Linked DNA regions of Homo sapiens: region 2 is linked to region 1. Evidence: promoter capture Hi-C in human tissues and cell types (Jung and others, 2019). All regions are on one chromosome and are shown on one strand. The core of a region is centred on a gene start or on the middle of the fragment in contact, and the rest is flanking DNA. Distances in the headings are between cores, read along the strand shown.

Evidence for each region. The method cuts DNA at HindIII sites, captures the fragments that hold promoters and counts their contacts. A contact is called where the count stands out against the background at its distance.
Region 2: a fragment that was not itself captured here is called in contact with the fragment with the promoter of GPR139 in region 1 in 2 of the 25 tissues and cell types used here (H1 embryonic stem cells and stomach).

What each region holds. Positions count from the first base shown.
Region 1 is chr16:20,070,762-20,077,679 of GRCh38, forward strand. It overlaps GPR139 (G protein-coupled receptor 139), which reads right to left and starts at 3,129. Exons shown (of 2, transcript NM_001002911.4): 1 at 2,729-3,129. The coding sequence starts at 2,855. The HindIII fragment of the contact is 2,569 bases long and covers 2,224-4,792 here.
Region 2 is chr16:20,124,169-20,131,086 of GRCh38, forward strand. No RefSeq gene overlaps it. Among named protein-coding and RNA genes, the nearest start is that of GPR139, 54 kb to the left of the region's middle. The HindIII fragment of the contact is 5,541 bases long and covers 980-6,520 here.

The DNA.
Region 1 (6,918 bases), core at 1,879-4,378:
AATATGAGCAAGAGCTGTGGTCTGTTACTCCACACCCAGCAAAGCTGCGTCTCCCAGTCAGTGGTGGAGTAATGAGAGTTTGCTAATTGCTGGTGGCTGGGGAAGGGAGGTGATGGGTGGGGACCACTGTGGTGAGCTCAACACGCAGAGTTACATGCTGACCTGAATGCTTTCTTCTGTGTATCTCAGTCCCTCCTCTGGTCACTGGTGGGGCTGAGCAAGCAGACCGCCCTCCTTACAACTTGATCGGCTTCATGATATCTATGACCACAGCAGTGCAGTGTCAATAAATGAATGTCAGGCACCAAGGCGAGCATTTCGCTAGTGCCATCATCTGCAGCAACATCCTTACTTCTCAACACCACTCCAGGGGATAGCTACCCTCATAATTCCCATTTTACTGCTGTGGAAACTGAGGCACAGAGACATGAAAAGCTTGCAACCTCACCCCAGCAGAATCTGGATTAACATTCACTCTTCATTGCCAGGACATGCTTGTCTCCCCTTATGGTTTTAAGAGAATGACTTAAAGAATTCACCTTTGAACCAGCCTTGTGGGCTGTTAACAAAACTGCTAGCAGACCAAGACTTTTGGATAAGCCTGGCCTCCCCAGTCATTCTTCTTTAGGTTGCTTGGTCCTTACGCATCCATCTGCTGTCTTTGGAATCATGCGCTTGCATTTGGGAGCTCCTGGAACTCAGAGACTGCATCCTAGGACTTTGTGTCCTTTTGACACCCAGTTAATACTTAGCATACCATAGTGGCCAAAACTATTAGTTGAGGGTATGAAGACATCAACAACAGCTAAATCCTAATCCTAGCTTCATCCTTTTAAGTTCCCAAACTCTGGGCTAAGCCTGTGGCTAGCATAGTGCCTGGCATACAGTAGATGTCAATGCTGTGTGTCAGGAAGGCCCTAGCTGGCATAGGAGTTGGGATGTGAAGGTGCGAGGTACCTTGGCTTCCACCTTGAGGTCTTTAAAGGCCTAAGTTTTTCCTCATTTTCTCCATCCTCTTGTCCCTGCTTTGAACTCTTGAAGGGTCAACCTCTGCTTGTCTTTGTCTCTGTCCCTTAAATGGTTTCATTAGAAAAGCCTGGGATAGTGAGTGAGTGAGTGGCTATCTCACTCAGTAGAGGAGGTGCAAGGGTGGGTGGATTGTTGGGGGGACATTCTGATGGGAATGCTGAGGGGGAAAGAGGTTCTTACACTTTTCCAGTTCAGCAAGCATCATCAAATAACCAACCTTCTCAAAAACTCATTTCCCAAAACAGTGCTCTGGGGAGAGAAGCTCCGAAGGGCTGAAGGGGGGAGGTGGAACCTGGACTAAAATCAATCCCAGCTCAAGGTAATTACAGGACATGTGCTACCACCCCGGCAGGGCAAGTCAGAGGCTGAGCTGCTCTCCTAGGGCAGCCGTGGCGATTAGTTAGGAATAAAAGCCTCATCACTGGCTTGGGGAGAGAGGCTCACACATTAGTAAACTTGCGCTTTCTCATGCCTGCCAAATTTGGGAGGGGGGATTTATTGAAACAATCTCATCAGGGGCCCTGACTGCCAAGTTGAATGTTTGGGAAAGGAAATCTCAGCCAGGCTCTCAGAAATCCAGCTCCCAAGTTCCCAGGATCGCAAGATGCTAAGGTTCGCAGACTAAGAGATGACTAGGGAGATGATGCTAAGATTTCAGGCTGTACACTGGATTTTTTTTCTCTCTTTCTCTCTGCTTCTTTCAGTCCCTCTCTCCTCTCTGCATGCAAGTAATCTTTAGGGATCTATTTGTCACCAAGACTGCCTGCAAGGAGGGTCCACCCAAAGCTGGAGCCCCAGGAAAAAAGCTTTCTCTCTCTCTCGCTCTCTCTCGCACACGGCCCAGGCAAGCACTCCCTCCTTCTCGGCAGCTCAGCTCTCTTCAGGAATTCAGGACAAGTCTCAGCCACACTTTGGAAAGGACATTAAGATGTGGGACCAGCCAGACATCCACAGCAGCCGTGAGCTGCCCAGGGTGGGTAGACCTGGAGGCCAAGCCAGGGGGCCAGGCATGTCCTCAAGGAGACTGTGACCCCCTGAGGTGGCAGCCACCGCAGGCTGCCCTGTGTGTCTCTGCACCCTTGCCCTGGCCAGGGCATGGTCCCAGAGCCAACCCCTGATTCTCCTTAGCCAGCTGGGAGACCCTTTTCTTGCTAGGCATTCTTTCTCCATTCCAGTGCCCCCCGAGCAAGAGAGTGCTCAATGTCAGGGTCTCCAGCTTCATCTCGTGTCAGGCGGGGACACGCAGAGGGGCAGAGGTGCCCCAAGTGGGGTGGACGTGCAGGGGCCACGGGAGAAGGGAAGCCTCCACGAAGCCTTCTGTCCAGAACATGCAGTCAAGCCAAACACACACAAAGCCCTCTACGCCCCCACCCCATGAAAGCCGCCCCCTCCAGATGCGCGCACAAATGCACCTTCGAATCCATGCTCACATGCCCAGCCCATCGCCCGCCGTCACAGTCATCACACACACACACACACACACACACACGCTCGCGCGCGCACACACACACACACGGTCCCCAGCTAGGGCACAGCAACTTCCTTTCCCCCCGTGTGGAAATATCCATAGTTGCCCTTAAAGCTTAAACTTTTTCCGAGGGGGCGCCAGGGAACGCACGGGGGAGGACGGGGGATTCTGGGTAGGGTTGCCCGGCACTTGGGGTTCCTGGCTTCCCTCCCTCTCCCCCACGCCCCTCACCTGGTAAACCGAGGCACAGCAAGAGGCTGTAGTAGACCACGGGCACGAAACCCAAGCCGCAGGCCGAGCCGGGGGACCACCAAGACAGCGAGCTGTTGGCTGCGAGGTGGGCGTGCGTGTGCTCCATGAGCGCGCCCCTCGCTCCCCTTGCCGCTTCGCGCCCGGCCTGCCAGCCCGACTCTGGTCGCCGGCTCGGTGGTGGCGGCGGCGGAGGCAGCGGCAGCTGGAGCAGCAGCGCCTCTCTCCCCGCAGGACTGGCTCCTACCCTTGGCCGTGATCCCCTCTGCTCGCTCCGCACCTGCCCGCCTGGAGTCTTGGCTCAGCCCTCCCGCAGGGCGCGGGGCGCAGGGTGCGGGGCGCGCTGCGCGGGGCCTCGGGAGGGGCTCCCGGAGCCCGTCTGTGCGCCTCCCACCTCGGACCCGCTCCACTCCCGCCTCAAAGCCGGGGGGCTGGGACGCCGCTCCCCGCAGCCAATCAGCGGCTGCCTGGAAGCGGAGTGTGTGTGGGGTGGGAGGGATGCGGAAGAGGAGGGGGTCCCAGCCGCCTCGCTTGGCTCCACTTTCAGGGGAGAAGATGCAGTTAGACCTGGGAGCCCCGAAGGAAGACCGGAGTGGAAAACAGGCTATCCCCAATCTCCAACCCCGAGGGAGGGGCGTGGTGTGGGTAGGATCTGCCTCTCCCGCAGCGGCTCCTCACTCCTCCAGCGTGTCCTCAGTTTGCCTTTCTCCACTCTCCTCGCAGCCACCTCTCTTGCCCCTCTCCAATGCTTCCAGTCCATCTCCGGATAGAGGATTCTATACCTAGGGCAAAGAACGGGGGAAGGGGTGGGGCTGTTGGAGCAGCGAGGATGCTAAAGCGTTGTCGGTTTTCCTCGACAAGGGAAGCTGAGCTTGCTGGCTCTGGAAAGAGGGGTGCGTGCCTCCCTGTGCGTGTGTGTGGCGACTCTGGGGGTGGCCGCCGGTGAACTGTCCCCTAACTGGAGTGCGTTTGAAGAGGATACAGACTGGCTAAGAGAAGCCCCTCCTGCATGCCGCCCTTCAGTCAGGAATAAGGATGTTGCAGACACTCAAACACGCACTCGCCCACGCTCACACAAAGACACACAATACCCAGGCATGCGGTGTACTCACACGCTCACTCAGGCACGCGGATGCTCTCCCATCCCACACCCAGACCCTTGAAAACACGCAGGCATCCTCATCACCATGCACAAGACCACACTCACAGGGCGCTCCAAACATACGAAAACGCACGCGGGAGTCATGGGGGCTTGTCGAGAGTGCTTGAAGGTTGTGTGAAGGGTAGCATTTGTAAGGCAGGTGGGATCCAAGCAATGTGTGGGTGGGTGGTCCTTTCTCCTCAGGGCAGGCAGGTGGAGGGTTCCGGGTGTGGCCACCACAGACTTGAGGAGAAAGAGAGGAGAGAAAGAGAGAGAGAGAGAGAGAGAGGAGAGAGAGGAGAGAGAGAGAGAGAGAGAGAGGGACATAGTGTCTGTCTGGGGCTCAAGACAGTGAGTGTGAGAGAGTTAAAGATTCTGCAGGAACACCCAGGCCAGGCATCCCCAGGAGCAGACTGTAGCAGCTGCCTATGCAAAGAGCTGTGATGGGTCTGAGAAGCCTAAGACCCCCCGCCCTCAAACCCCCCACTCCCGCTGCTTCCCAACGCCCCTCACCCCTATATCACATCCATTCCTGGAGAGAAGGAACTGGCTAAGCTTTCCCCAGCCTCTTCCAGGTCTCCCAACGTGGAGCAGACCCCTGTCCCTCAAGACCAGCAAAGAGCATGTATCCAGTTCTTGTCTTTGTTAGAGGTTACCCCAGGCAGGGATGGGGGACACTCTAGGGCAGAGTGGAAATCTCCAAAGCATACAGAGTCAGGCAGTCTGCATAAGGGGGGCATCTACTGGATCTAGCTGGGTCTGTGGTAAGCAAGGAGGCACGTGGCCCCACAAAAGGGCAGATTAGAGTCACATGGACCCAGCCCAGTGAGGCCAGGTCTGAGATTTCAAGCCCCATTAGATACTGAAATTTTATTATGACCTCTCTCGATTAAATATGACTACTGCAAACACAAAGAAAACGAGAACACCGCTGCATTGATGAATAAAGCAGTGGCTGGCCATTGTAGAAGCTCAATAAATAATTGTTCAAAAACCTATAGATTGGATTGGTCTGCAGGCAGCTAGACTGAGATGAGAAGTTGGGGATAGCCAGGGGCGGGGGAAATGTATGTGATCTGACAAAGCCCTCCTAGTCTCTTCAAAGATGCCCTCTGCATTGGGAATGATGGATAAGGCTTCTGGGCTTTTGCACTGGCCATTCCCTTTGCCTGGAATGTTCTTCCTCTGCACAGCTACAGAAAGCTGTTTCCTCACCTTCTTAGGGTCTTTGCTTATCCGTCCTTTTCTCTTTGAAGCTTTCCCTTATAATCCTATTTACATTGAAATCTCTACTCCCCTCCCTATTGAAATCTCTATTCTTCTCCCACCTCAAAGTATTCACATCCTCTGTCCCTCGCTGCTTAATTTTTCTGCATAGTGTATAGCGCCATCAGCAGACCATACACGTTGTATTTATTTACTTTTCTTTCTCTTAGAAAGGCAGGGCCTTTTGTCTGTGTCGTTCCTGGTTGCGTCTCAGCTTCACACGGTGCCTGCATGCTGCAGACTCTCAACAGACATCGAAAGAATGAATGGACTCAGCACCCAGGGCCTGCAGGGAGATGAGTTTATCTTTGCTTGTCTTTGCAGGCCAGGGTCTCAGAATGCTGTTGGGGTTAGGGGGATTAAGCATATAATGATCATGTATGACAAGTCACTCCAAAAATGATTTGAGTGGTTTGAATTCACAGAACTACAAACTTGGCTAGGCAGAGGGACTGGACTGCATGGGAAATCTTGACGGACCTTATTGTGTCTGAATCTTTATTTCTCCGTGTAAAATGGGGATGAAAGAAATCAGGTATGCCTTTGTCCCAGGAATGCTGAGCTGGGAGAAAAAGAGGGGTGTGGTGCGTATGGTGCAGACTGCAGTTCTGGAGAATGGGGAATTGGATTGGGTCCTCTGCTGGCTCCATCAGGAACACTGGCAGTTTGTCAAGGTCCAAGTTTCCTGGAAAATGGATAGTTTGGATGAGAAGATTTTTTATTTTTTTGAAGAGATGGTCTCACTATGTTGCGTGGACTTGTCTCAAACTCCTGCCTCAGCCTCTCAAAGTGCTGGGATTATGGTGATGAGCCAATGCACCTGGCCTGGATGAGAAGATCTTTAAAGACTTAAGTCAAGCTTTGAGTGTTCCTGGGTCCCAGGGAATGGGCAGGATGAGTTAACAACAAAAGTCTGTTTAATTTTGCTTAAGGGGCTCATCCACTTGATTGGTTCTGTATGACAATGGCAGACTCAGTTCAACAACAGTGGTTGGCTGAATTCATTCATTTATTCATTCTTTCAACAGAATGTTACCGGACACGTAACATATGCTGGTCAGGACCAGCCACATAATTTGCAAGGCCCAGTGCAAAATAAAAATGCGAGGTCTCTTGTTCAAAAATTATTAAGAATTTCAAGACACCAAGAGTAGAGCATTAAACCAAGCATGGAGCCCTTTCAAGCATGGGACCTTGAGTGACTACATAGGTCACACATCCATGAGGCCAGTCCGGCTTAGGAGACACAGGTGAGTGATAAGAGTTAACATTTACTGAGGGTTTGTTAAGAGACAGCCACGACTTAACTCATTGCATCTTCATTATCACAATGGAAGGAAGGTATAATTATTAGCCCCATTTCACAGATGAGAAAACCAAGGCAGAGAGAAGTTTAGTAATTTGCCCAAGAACACCTGGTTGGAATTGAATCCAAGGCAGTTGGCTCCAGAGCCTGTGCTGAAACCATCAGGAGCTCAGACTAGTGGAAGGATAGGTAAGTGATAGGAAACGTCACACACTGTCACGTAGGCTCTTTGTAACATGAAGGCAGGATCTTCATCTGTCTTATCCTTCACTGTATCCTTAGTGCCAAGAGCAGTGCCAGGTAGGTGTCCAGAAGTAAAACTTAGATTAGTTAATAAATAAATATAATAGAAATATATACAGAATTTTAGAGGAGGAGTTTCACACTTGAATGCCTGTGAGCCTGGGCAGGTAATAAATATTCTTCACTGTCTTTTTCTTTTTCTTTTTTTTTTTGAGT
Region 2 (6,918 bases), core at 2,500-4,999, 54 kb after region 1:
GGAGTTTATTTGCTGCTGATGCTGTGATGGGCGATATGATGCTGTGAAGGCACCAGTCAGAGCTCATAGTTCCTGTTCTGGCTCCCAGCTCACCCAGAGAAAAAGCCAAAGTCCTCACTGCGACCCTCAAGGCCCCCATAGGACCTGCCTCCATGTTCCTTAAAACTCATAGGTGAGGCCAGGTGCAGCGGCTCACACCTGTAATCCCAGCAGTTTGGGAGTCCGAGATGGGTAGATCATTTGAGGTTAGGAGTTTGAGACCAGCCTGGCCAACATGGTGAAACCCCATCTCTACTAAAAATATAAAAATTAGCCGGGTGTGATGGCACACACCTATAATCCCAGTTACTTGAGAGGCTGAGGCAGGAGGAGAATTGCTTGAACCCGGGAAGTGGAGGCTGCAGTGAACTGAGATTGTGCTACTGCACTCCAGCCTGGGCAACAGAGCAACACTTCGTCTTGAAAAAGAAAAACCTCATAGGTGAGTTTTAAGGCTCACAGGTGAGCTCTGTGCTCACCTCTGCCACCCTGCCGCATCTTCTCTTTCCTCCCACCACATTGGCCTTCTCTGCTCCTGGGACACAGCTGTAGTCGGGCTCCTACCTCGGGGCCTTTGCACGTGCTGTTCCTGCTCCTGGCAATGCAGTTTCCTCAGACAGCTACACACTCTTTCGCTTCTTTTTGCACTTTATTCAATTGGCCCTTCCATGAACCTCCTCCTCCTCACAATCTAAAATTTTAATCGTTCTCTGCCTTCAACACTTCATGATTACCTTCTGACCTTTATTATTTTCTCCTTAGCACTTACCACTAATCTCACATACCATGTACTTTACTTACTTTTCTCACTTATTGCTTGTCTTCCTGCCCTCCCCCAACTCAGCATTAAAAGGTAAGCTTCGTGAAAGCAGGCACGTTTATCTGTTCTGTTAGCTGCTCTATCCCTGTACCTAAAACAGTGCTTAACAAATATTTCTGCAGGATCAAATGAGTTTGTATTTTCTGGATAGTCCATACAAACCCACATTCTCTACACTAATGGGTGCAAGTTTTACAACGAAGCTTTCTTTTTTTGGTTATGATAATTAGGCTCCCTTTCATGGGGACAACAACAGACAGTGTGGCTTCAGAATTCTATTTTGTGTCTGGTGCATGGGTACCAACTTTAAAAGCAGGTGGCTCCCTGGGAAATAACTGCAGAAGGAAGACACTTAGATGAAATTAGAAAAATTGGGCGTTACCTTCATGAGACACCATGGTGATAGGGCAGGGCAAGACTTGAGTGCTCCCAAATGCTGGTGACTCAAAAAGATGGTGTCAAGTTGAAGAACAGAGGCTCTTGATTCAGACTGCCTTGCTTCAAATCCTGGTTCTATCTCTTACCAAGTAGGATGATGAAATCTGGGCATATTAATGTCTCCAAGTCTTAGTTTCTCCACCAAAAAAAATGAGGATGCTGACAATAGTGCCTACCACAAGGAGGCTTCAAAGATTCAGAGAAACGAGGCATGTGATCTAATGGATAACAGAGTGACTGGCACACATGAGGGCTCTGGAAAATGTGAGCCATGGTTGTTAGCTGAAGAAAGAGGGGTCAGTCACTGATGTCACTGAGACAAGAGGCCAGGTATGATTGTAGAGGGCTTAGGGTGGGATGCTGGGAGTTTCATACATTGGGAACTGTAGAAAGGAGCCTATTAATTTCCTAGTGTGTGAAGCCTTCAAGGTTTGAATCATCCAGTCCTCAACTCTAGCTGTGGGCAGAGGATGTCTTTTGGGGTGTGAGTTCAGGCAGGTCTCCCTTTCTTTGAGACCTGTTATTTTCTATTTTTGATGGGGAGCCCCTGTGGCAGGTTTGTGTGATCCTGCCCTTAGGGTAAAGCTGATTACACTTGATCCAGATTGGAACAACTAGACCATATCTCCTGGGGATTTATAACTGGGACTTGGCTTCCATTGGCACTGGAGCTGCGAGGATGTGTAAATTCAGGAGCTGTGGGACAGCCACGTTTGGCCATGTGCACTGAGAAAGTCTGTTTTAGAAAGAGAGAGATACAGAAAACATCAGTCATTTGGTGGTGGTGGTGGTGTGGTGGGTCATCCATTGTCCCACCCTCCTCTTCCTGTTTGGGGAATTTCCCTTTCTGTCATCTTGGTGGAAGCAAAGCTACTTCAGATCACAGAAACCCAAAAGGCCACATTCTTGTTTTTTAGCTCTTGGGATGCTAACGCAGGGGCAAGTGGTGCAGGCTTGGTCAGAGTTGCAAAGTAGCTGGACCACACTAGAAGGAACTGGGGATCTTTAGAGAAAAGTCTGGTACCTGGTCTTGTTATAGGTCCACCAGGTTTGTGGGCCTGCTGTGCAACAACCAATACACTGAGACAGCAGGGTTTGCAGAAGAGAAAAAAATTAACAATTGCAGGGCAGTTGAGAGAGGAGACAGGAGGGACACTCAAATCTGCCTCCTTGGGCAGATCTGGGCTGGGATTTTTTAGGAGATCATGGAAGGTAAATAGCTGGAAAATTGGGGTTATTTGTCAGGGTATAGGGGATGAAATTGTTGGGATGTAAGAACTGCATTCTTTTGTGAGTCAGCTTCTCATGGAGTCCTTCAGACCAGCTGGTGTCAGCAGTTTCACTGGTGTGCAGAACCTGAAAGAATATCTCAAATAGAAAACTTAATATTTCACAATGATTAAGTTGTTATCTACAGAGAAGTTAAGGGGAGCTATACTCTTGTGACAGAGTCTATGTGATTCTGAAGGAATAGGCACCAAAAAACTACGAGGAAGCAGGTCACAGAGCAAGGTGGCTTCATGATTAATGCTGAATGTGCTGCAGACCTGGTTTATTTTTATTTCTCCCCCTCCTTCTTCCCTGATTAATTGTATAAAGTTTATAGATACAGTTCCAGTCCAGGATAGGAAATATATACCTGGAAATGAGCCTGGCAGATGTTTGTTATGTCAGAAAGCCAAGAAGTTACCCAAGACCAATGGGGTTCATCAGAAGAACACATGAACCATCTTAAAAGGGATTCCACCAGTCAACAATGGAACAAGTTGAGTATCAGTAGGGACATAACTGCAGGAGACTGAAAACACTTCTAATGTGTTGAAATGCAGGAGTTCATGAGGATACCACCACCACCATCAACAACAACAAAACTCACAGGTCCCTCTTGGAAGATGCTAGCATACCATTGCATTATTTTGAAAACTGATAAGGAAAGGGAGAGAATCAAGCATGCATTCTACTTTTCCCTATACAGTTTGTCAGGGAGGCCAAACAATTGAAGGGCATGTTTATCTTTGTAAGTATTCTAGCTAATAAATGAGGAAGGATTGAAAGAATTTCATCATTTTTAATACCTAATGAAATAAAGGATTTAGAAAGTGATTGCCAACTGATATCCAAACAAAAGAGGCAAACAGACATCGTGGCTTCTTGATGGAAGTGTGCTCCCTAATCATGAAGCAGTTAACAAAGAACCAGAATGAAATCAAACCTCTAGATCTAACTACTTACTTCTAGGAAACACGGGAGAAACAGGAGTATGTTCAATTCAATCATGGAGATAGAATCAGTAATTCAGACTGTGGGTGAACTCTACAGGAACTGATTTCTTTTTTCCACTTTATTTTTTTAAATTGTTTTGTATGTATTTAAGGTGTATAACATGTTGTTTTCATATACATATAGGTAGTGAAAATGTTACTATAGTCAAACAAATGAACACATCCATCATCTCACATAGTATCTACTCTTTGAGCAAAAAATCACAAGTACAACCCGATGTTATTAAGGACGGCTCTCGTGCTATACATTACATCTCCAGACTTGTTCATTCTACATACCTCTTACTTTGTATCCTTTGATCTACATCTCTCCATTTCCTTCCCCTCTCTCTGGCCCCTGGTAACACACACACACACACACACACGCACACACACACAGAATATTCTCCTTCCTTCCTTCCTTCCTATTAAAAGAGACATGAGACATACCAACCAATGGCAAGGTATGGTTCTTATTTTCATCTAGAATCTAACAATAAATATGAGAGAAATACCTCAAGATAATCAGGTAAATTTCAACACCAACTCAGCATTTCATAGTTTTGAGGAATTATTTTTAATTTTTAAAGTGTGATGATAGTTTTGTGATTATCTATCATCTAGCTGTCTATATGTTTTTATGATAATACACGTATCTTTTTTGTTTGTTGAGGCAGGGTCTCACTCTGTCCCCCAGGCTGGAGTGCAGTGGTGCGATCATGGCCATGGCTCACTGAAGCCTCAACCTCCTGGGCTCAGGGGATCCTCCCATCTCAGCCTTCCTGGTAGCTGGGACTGCTGGCATGCCACCACACCCAGCTAATTTTTTGTAGAGAAAGGGTTTCACCATGTTGCCCAGGCTGCTCTCAAACTCCTGGACTCAAGCAATCGTCCCACCTCGGCCTCCCAAAGTTCTTAATCAGGGACAATATTTCTCCCTAGGAGATATTTGTCAACGTCTAGATGTAGTTTTGGTTGTCACAACTGAGAGTGAAGAGGGTGATACTGGCATCTGGTGGGTAGAGACCAGGAATGCTGCTTAACATCCTACAATGCACAAGACAGCCCCCGACAGCAAAGAATTATCTGGTCCAAGATGTCAGCAGTGCCAAGATTGAGAAACGCCATTCTAGACATACATGTTGAAATTGTTTTGGATAAAATTATAGGATAAGTGGTATTTGCTTCGAAATATTATGAGGGTGGGGACAAGTGGGTAGGGAGACAAATGAAACAAGATTGACTGTGAGCTGAGAATTATTTAAGTTGGCATTATACTGTGCTATTGTGTGTGTGTATATATGAAAATATCAATAACAAAAGCTTATAAACACGATGCAGGCATAGTGGAGATTGTATTCCAGCAGCAGTGCCTCAGCAGGACTCTGTGCCTGGTGCCAGCAGTGGAGCGGGTGCAAGCTGGGATGTTTGGTTCTTAGAGGCAGCAGCAGTGGTATCCTCACTAGGCTTGGTCTGTAGTGGGATTTTGGCTGCAGTTCTGGCTGTCTAGCTTTTCCTTGTTGCTGCTTGTTTTTATCTTGTTCCCTGAGCTTCCTAGAGATTCCGAGGCTTCTGATATCCTTTCAAAAATTCATTTTCTGTTAAAATCAGTCATAGTTAGTTTCTGTGCAGCTAAGGATTCCGATTGATTGAAGAAAAGAATGAAGCAGATGTATAGGGTGAAGCTGATGTGACAGACAATGGAAAAGAGAGAGAGAGAGTATTCTACTCCATGGTTTCTTCCTTTGTCTCCTTCCTTCCTTCCTTTTCTCCTTCTCCTTCCTTCCTTCCTTCTTTCCTTCCCTCCTTCCTTCTTTCCTTCCTCTCTTCCTCCCTTCTTCCCTCCCCATCCCCCCTTCCCTTCTCTTCCATTTCCTTCCCCCTTCCTTTCCCTTTCCTTTCCTTCCTCCTTCCCTTCCCTTTCCTTCTTCCTTCCCTTCCCTTCCTTTCCCTTCCCTTTCCTTCCCTTCCTTTCTTTTTCTTCTCTCACTATGTTGCACAGGCTGTTCTTAAACTCCTTACCAAACCACCATCCTGCTATGTCTGCTTTTGTTCACTCCAGTGCAAATGTTCCATCAATATTTGTTTAATGAATAAATGATTGCAATTTGGCTTCAGACAAAGAATAAGCGTGGTGTTCATGCCATCAGAGGCATTCTGGTCCTCTTGGCATAATCCTTGTAGATGAACATTATGTATTTATTGTGGTATATACATTTGTCTCTTGTGAGTTTTGCTGGCATTTGTCATACTCTCTAAATGCCACTGACACTAGGATCCTGAGTCCTTGTGTTTGTGAGACTGGATAGGGAAGCACCCACCAAGGTCAGGCCCCTTGAGAGGCAGAGCTTGCCTTCTTGTCCTGGGAGATAGCCCTGTATTGATGGACGCAGCCCATCAAATTTCATTAACCAGTGTGGCAAATAGAAAAAAAAGTTATAAGCAGGTAGCCTAGGGTTTAAGAGAACAAACTTTGAGCCAAACAGCCTTGGGTTATGACCCTAACTCTGCCATTTGTTAATGTGTTATCTCAGGCAAGTATTAATAATTTAACCTCTCTACACCTCAGTTTTCTCATCTGTAAAATGAACTATTTTAAGGATTAAGTAAATAAAAATATACATGCAAGAGCTGACACATAGTGAGCATTGTATAAGTGATATCATGATTACTAAACATTTGGTTTATTACTATCGTTGGGAGGTTCTTCTAGTATAATGACCACCAGCCAGGAGATGCCCAAAGTAGAAGATGGTCAACCTTAGGCCCACTTAAAGCTCCATGGCTCACATTCTGCCATTTACTCATCACTACAGTGATATCAGACATGGTTGATTCCTTTCGAGCCACAACATTAATTATGCAGCATCAGTAACTCCCAAGGGCCTCGTCTGGTGGAGGGAATTTGTGTGTGTTGGGCGTGGGGGTTCCAGGGTCCTGCTGACCTGGGATCTACTACGTATTAGTCTGTTTTCATGCTGCTGATAAAGACATACCCGAGACTGGGTAATTTATAAAGAAAAAAGGTTTAATGGACTCACAGTTCCACCTGGCTGGGGAGGCCTCAAAATCATGATGGAAGGTGAAAGGCATGTCTTACATGGCAGCAGACAAGAGAATGAGAGCCAAGTGAAAGGGGAAACCCCTTATAAAACCAACAGATCTTGTGAGACTTATTCACTACCACAAGAACAGTATGGGGGGAAACCCCTCCATGATTTAATTAGGTCCTACCAGGTCCCTCCCACAACATGTGGGGATTATGGGAGCCACAATTCAAGATGAAATTTGGGTGGGGACACAGCCAAACCATATTATACTACCTTCTACCTGTATGATCCAGCAGGGGACCTAATGTAG